Linked DNA regions of Homo sapiens: region 1 is linked to region 2. Evidence: promoter capture Hi-C in human tissues and cell types (Jung and others, 2019). All regions are on one chromosome and are shown on one strand. Each heading gives the region's core, a stretch centred on a gene start or on the middle of the fragment in contact. The rest is flanking DNA. Distances are from core to core; before and after follow the strand shown. Region 1 has its middle 25 kb from the start of TSKU. Region 2 holds the start of CAPN5 (calpain 5).

Evidence for each region. The method cuts DNA at HindIII sites, captures the fragments that hold promoters and counts their contacts. A contact is called where the count stands out against the background at its distance.
Region 1: a contact is called between a fragment that was not itself captured here and the fragment with the promoter of CAPN5 in region 2, in 4 of the 25 tissues and cell types used here (bladder, dorsolateral prefrontal cortex, hippocampus and 1 more).

Annotation. Positions count from the first base shown.
Region 1 is chr11:76,807,389-76,810,249 of GRCh38, reverse strand. No RefSeq gene overlaps it. Among named protein-coding and RNA genes, the nearest start is that of TSKU, 25 kb to the right of the region's middle. RefSeq lists enhancers at 2,706-2,755, 2,836-2,861. The HindIII fragment of the contact is 6,333 bases long and covers 1-2,861 here.
Region 2 is chr11:77,065,265-77,068,298 of GRCh38, reverse strand. It overlaps CAPN5 (calpain 5), which reads right to left and starts at 1,328. Exons shown (of 13, transcript NM_004055.5): 1 at 1,205-1,328. RefSeq lists a silencer at 1,123-1,812 and an enhancer at 1,669-2,169. The HindIII fragment of the contact is 16,009 bases long and covers 1-3,034 here.

The DNA.
Region 1 (2,861 bases), core at 130-2,629, 260 kb after region 2:
CCCCAGCCTCAGGGAGCGGAGGAAGGAACCCCTCAGTGTGCCAGGCCCTGTGACGGGGGCTCCAGCTGATTACCTTGGTAACTCTTTCAGCAGGCTCTGAGCTTGTTAGAAATGGGTTGTAAACAGTGTTCATGTCCCACGCTTCTGTGACGCAGCTTGAACATGGTAGGAATGATTGAATTCAAGGTACCCCAGCTCTCTGCCACCCCAATTTGAGGAGCAAAATACCTTCCCTGCTGACCTACCTTTATGCCTGGGTGCCTCCACATAATCAATTTTTTTGTTTGTTTTTGAGACAGAGTCTCGTTCTGTTGCCCAGGCTGGAGTGCAGTGGCGCGATCTCGGCTTACTGCAAGCTCCGCCTCCCGGGTTCATGCCATTCTCCTGCCTCAGCCTCCCGAGTAGCTGGGACTACAGGCATCCACCACCACACCCGGCTAATTTTTTGTATTTTTAGTAGAGATGGGGTTTCACCGTGTTAGCCAGGATGGTCTTGATCTCCTGACCTTGTGATCTGCCCGCCTCAGCCTCCCAAAGTGCTGGGATTACAGGCGTGAGCCACCGCGCCCGGCCAATTTTTTTTATTTTTATTTTTTATTTTTTGAGATGGAGTCTCCCTCTGTCGCCCAGGCTGGAGTGCAGTGGTGTGATCTCAGCTCACTGCAGCCTCTCTCTGCCTCCTGGGTTCAAGCAATTCTCCTGCCTCAGTCTCCCAAATAGCTGGGATTACAGGCTTGCTATTTTTTTTTGTATTTTTTGTTCTTTTAGTAGAGATGGGGTTTCACCATGTTGGCCAGGCTGCTCTTGAATTCCCGATCTCAAGTGATCCACTGGCCTCGGTCTCCTAAAGTGCTGGGATTACAGGCATGAGCCACAGCACCTGGATGCATAGTCAAATACTTTTAGTTAAAGCTCTGAGGTCCGTGTTAAAAAGCCAAGAACTCAGGAGGGGAATATGCCATGCTCTCATCTGACGTGAGCAGTGGCCACGTGATGTTCTTGGTCTTACCCTGTGCTGAGCGGGCTCTGTGGGGATAGGGAGGAGGCCTGGACAGGAAGGTCAGAGGACCCAGGATTTAAACTGGCTGGGTGACCATGAGTGGGTTACCCAAGGAGGGGAAGAATGCAGACTTGAGCTCTTGGGAGCTTTCTCTGATGAGCTTTTGGATCCCAGGGCAGCTGTCCTTGGCCAAGAGAACAACCAAACAGTTGAGACAAGTCTCTGGTCTGGGCTGAAGCCTGCGTCAAAGTTGTTGGACTAGCACTCTGGGATTCCATTTCTGATTCTGTATGTCTAATCTTTTGCTTCCCATTCTCTGCATTGAGCAGTCTGTTTGTGGGCTCTGGAATCGACAGACTCGTTTTTAAAATGTAGAATCTGTCACTTATCGGCTATGGGACCTTGGGCAAATTACTTAACCTCCCTGAGCTTCCATTTTCTCCTCTGTAAAACAGCTTTATATATAGCGAGAATGAATAAGTCAATACACACAAAGTGTACATCTCAGCGCCTGGCACCGAATAACCTGTCATTTCATCGGCAAGTTTTATTTTTATTTTAAAACAGACCCAAATTCCTACATTTCTTCCTATCTCCACTGCTACCATCAAGTCACTCTCATCTCCTTCCTGGTTTATGGCAAGGACTTCCTAATGGATCTCTCTGCTTCTGCTCTGGCACTCACAGCCAGGGCAATCTTTGTAAAGTGTCCCCAGAGCCTGTGTCACCTCTGTCTAAAGGCCTCTAATTGGCTTCCTGCTGTGACTGGAGTAAAATCCGCAGCACTGACAGTGGTCTATCCAGCCAGCCTCGCTGCCCTCAATTCTCCCATCAAGCCCCGGCCAGCCTCGCGTCCTTCCTGAGTGTGCCAAGCTCACTCACTCCTTGAGGTCTTTGCACCGAGATTTCCTCCCTTGGAAAAGGTTCCTCAGGTCCCCGCAGGGTTGGCTTCCTCCCTTCTTTTAAGTCTCAGCTCAAACGTGAGAGTAGCACCCAACCGCGTTACCTCTGCCGGCACCCCCGTCACCTCTACTGTGCTCCAATTTGCCCTCTTTGTAGCATTCACCATCTCCTCACTTACTTAGATGCCCAGGCACCCATTTACTGTTGGCCCTCCCCGTAGATGACCACCTCCATGACAGCAGGGACCAAGGTGGTCTGTGGTCATGGCTCTTTCCCCAGTACTTGTCTTTGGGTCTGGACACAGGAGACCCTCTAAACTATTTATTGAATTTTATTTTACTTTTTAAAAAATATTTATTTATTTATTTTAGAGACAGGGTCTCACTATGTTGTCCGGGCTGGTCTCGAACTCCTGGACTAAAGCAATTCTCCCATCTCAGCCTCCAGAAGTTCTGGGATTACAGGCATGAGCCACCAGGCCCGGCCTGCTGAATAAACATTATTTTTTAAATTCTATAAAACACCAGGTTGAAAGTTCTTTTATCGGAGGGGAAGATGTGAAAGTGGAGTCCTTGGTGGCTGCTGAAAACCGCTGCTCATCAGACTTCTGCGTCTGAGCTTGCCCTTCGCTTTCCTCTTGTGGGGACCCCTCTAACCCCCGGCCTGTGTATAGAGCGACAAGCCCGGCACAGGGCAGGGAGAAAGGGAGCAATGGGCGGGCGGAGAAAGGAACGGGAGTGTCTAAGGCAGCGCCCTCTGGTGGGCACAAACTCCGTGACAAGTTGGAGACCTGCAACACACTCCGCCCGCAACTCCATTCTTGCAAGTTTTCACCTAGTTTGCCCCTCTTGTCAGATGGGAACTCAAGCTCGTGCCCTGCCTATGCAGTCACTTTTCACCTTGTATTGCAGTCATTCGACTCTCCCATGGGATGGAAAGCCACTGGGGCCAGGGCTGG
Region 2 (3,034 bases), core at 79-2,578:
ACCTCTGTGTGCTGGCAACTAGCCTGACCTGGCCTGCAGCAGCAGCTGGGCCCACCATACCCTGCCCAGGAGGCAAAGGCAGCCACACCACCCCACCCCCAGACCCTGGGGACAGGAGCAAGGACCAGCCCGAGGACCCTGGGAGGTGTCAATCCTTGCAAAACACAGTGGTTCCCCCAGCAGGCCTCAGACTCATTGAGTTGGCTGAGCCTCACCCGTAAGCCCCTCTCTTCCAAGAAGTCTGCCCAGATCTCTCTTTCCCCTGAGTCCTGGGATAGTCGCCCTCAGTACTTTTCTCTCTAAACCACAGGTGTAGGGAGAAGATTCTGGGATGAGAGCCAGGCGGACCCGGGTTCAAATTCTGGCTCAGCAATCCTGAGAGGGCAGCTGACTTCGCTTCTCTGTGCCCCACTCTTCTGATCTGTATGGAACTTGGGGGTGAATCCCACCACATGAAATGACTGGGAGAGAGAACGTCGCACCTGTTAATGATCTTTTGTCCTATTTCGCCTCTGGTCCCCTAGGCCAGTCTTCCGAGACCCCCAACGCAAAGGAACAGAGGTGGGAACTCTGAGGTCTGAGAAACAAAGATCCATTCCCTCCCAGACCACTCCCCCACACTCCCGCAACACACACACACACACACACACACACACACACACACACGTGCGCCCGCCCTGCAGTCAAGGAGAAAAGCCCCCTTTCAACCTGGGGAGTAGTGCCAAGAAGCGGATAGGCTGGGGCAGTAGGAGCCTCGGCCCTGCCCCTTCCCCAGGCCTGGGTGGTGGAGCACCCAGAAGGGGTTGGTGGATTGCAGGGATGAAAGGGGGGTTAAGCAGGGAAGAGAAGGGGGGAACTGTAAGGAAGATGAGAGGAAGTGACAGTCTAGCCCCGGGTGTTAGGCGCTTCCAGCGCGTCCGCACTAGGAAAACGACTCGGAGACACCCAGAGGGAGGTGAAAAAAAGACTCCTCGCCGGGGGTGGGGGTGGGGACGAGCCGAGGGGGCCCAGGCGGATGCTCCAGGACCCCGCCCCCCAGCCAGCGCTCACTTCCTTTCCCCCCGGGCCCGCGGGAGGTGCAGCCCCCTCCACTGATTCGTGGTCCCGGAGCAATCACTGGCCCGCGCTGCACCCGCACACACCCCCCCGAAACACACACACACACACACACAGAAGCACACGCCTCCCTCCGCCCGCCTCCTACCGGCCGAGCCGCCGCGGGTCCAGCCGGGCTCCCGGGATGCAGGGCACGGCGCGGGCGCTGGAGCGGAGGCTGCAGCCGCCCGGCGCAGCAGCCTCGGGCTCTGGCCGGAGATCCAGCTGGGACTGGCCTGCGGCGGGGGCTGGCGCTCGCATTCCCCGGGTTCGGCCAGCTGGGCCCGGCTCCGCCCCGCCCCGCCCGCGGCCTCCGCCCATTTGCCCGTTGCGAGCCGGAGGCGTGGTCTCCCGTGGGGCGGGGTGGGCGGCCCGGTGGCCGGGTGCGCCCATGCGCACTGGTGCGGTGGGCGGCCGCTCAGAGGAGCGGTCTCATTCCAGCCCCTGTGTTGAACGCGGACTTGGGGCCCCTAGCGGCACCCACCGCCTCTACCGGCTCGGTCGGGCCCTCGTTCTCTCTCCTTCCCAGCCTATCTGTCTGCGGTTGGTGCGCATCCCCATGGGCAGCCTCCCAAGGGCTGGCTGCACCGTGAGGGATCGGGCCGGGGCTGGGGTTCAGCCCCCACAGGGCGGGCCGGGGCCGCGGCTGACTTGGGGCCGGCGTGTAGTACCGAGGACCCGCAAGGGCCAGGGTGCCTGCCAGAACCAGGACTTGGTGGGCGGCGCCCCTCCCTTTCCGGGCTCCACCTTCACATCCATCCCAAGTGTTCGGATGGAGAAGTGGGAGCCCAGGCCCCTGTGAGCAGCAGAGGGCCTCTGTCAGATGGGAAAACTGACCCCGGCCCGTGTTGAGGACTTAATCCCGTGCTGCCATGGGCTCCCGGGCTCGGGCTCATGTTTGACTCTCTGTCCGTGACTGGCTACCGGAATGCCCTGGGATGGCACGGAGCCTGCATTTCCTGATCTGTAAAACGGGGACTATAATCTCTACCCACCCCAGGCCGCTTGGGGAATCCGATAGAGAAGGTTTAGGAGTGACTAGTTCTTGCCTACAGTAGGAGCTCAGGGGTGCCACCACCCCCCGCCCTGAGGCAGCAGGACAGACGCCCATCTGATCTGATGAGCCCATCGGCCCACTCGCTGGTGGAGCGTCTCAGGCCCGTTCATTCTCCGCCTCCAATTTGTTTCGAAGTCTCAGTTAATGATTTCGTCAACCTCTTGTGTTACCGAAACAAACTTGGGTCCGCCCACCCAGTGCAGCAAAGCCAAACACTGACACCAGGATTTGCAGCGGCAGAAAGGGAGGCATTTATTGCAGGGTGCCAAGCAAGGAGAATAGGTCGGCTAATGCTTAAGACCCGTACTCCCCAATGGTTTACATGTAAGGCTTTTTAAAGGTGGGGAGACAGAGGTTATAGGCAAAGTCATAAATAAATACTCTGGAGCTATACATTGGCTTGGCCCAAAAAGGTGAGACATTTTGAGGCAGGGTCATAGGTGGATTCAGAGATTCTGTGATTTGCAATTGGCTTAGGAAGCAAGACTGTCTAAAAACCTGGGGTCCACAGATAGGAGAGTTAAGCATTGGCTTATGGGTGTGACTCTTTACAGAACCCTTGGGAAGAAATTTAAAGAACAGCCCTCAGTTTCCCCTTATCTGAGGCCTAAGTGACAGCTGTGAAAAACAATTCAGGGACATAGGTCAAGATGTTATCTTTAGTTTCTATAGGGAACCAGACATCTTGTGGCTCTAACTTATTTGGGTGGCCCTTGTTTGAAGCTTCAATTACCTTCTTGCTTGTCAAGGTGCTCATTTACTTCTCAAAGCTAGCTAGCTGCCTGAAATTCCCCCTGAAAAGACTCATGATTTTCCTTTATTTCCACTAAGAGGAGTCTCTGCCTCACCTCACTCTCAGTCACCTGGACTTCTCTAGCTTCT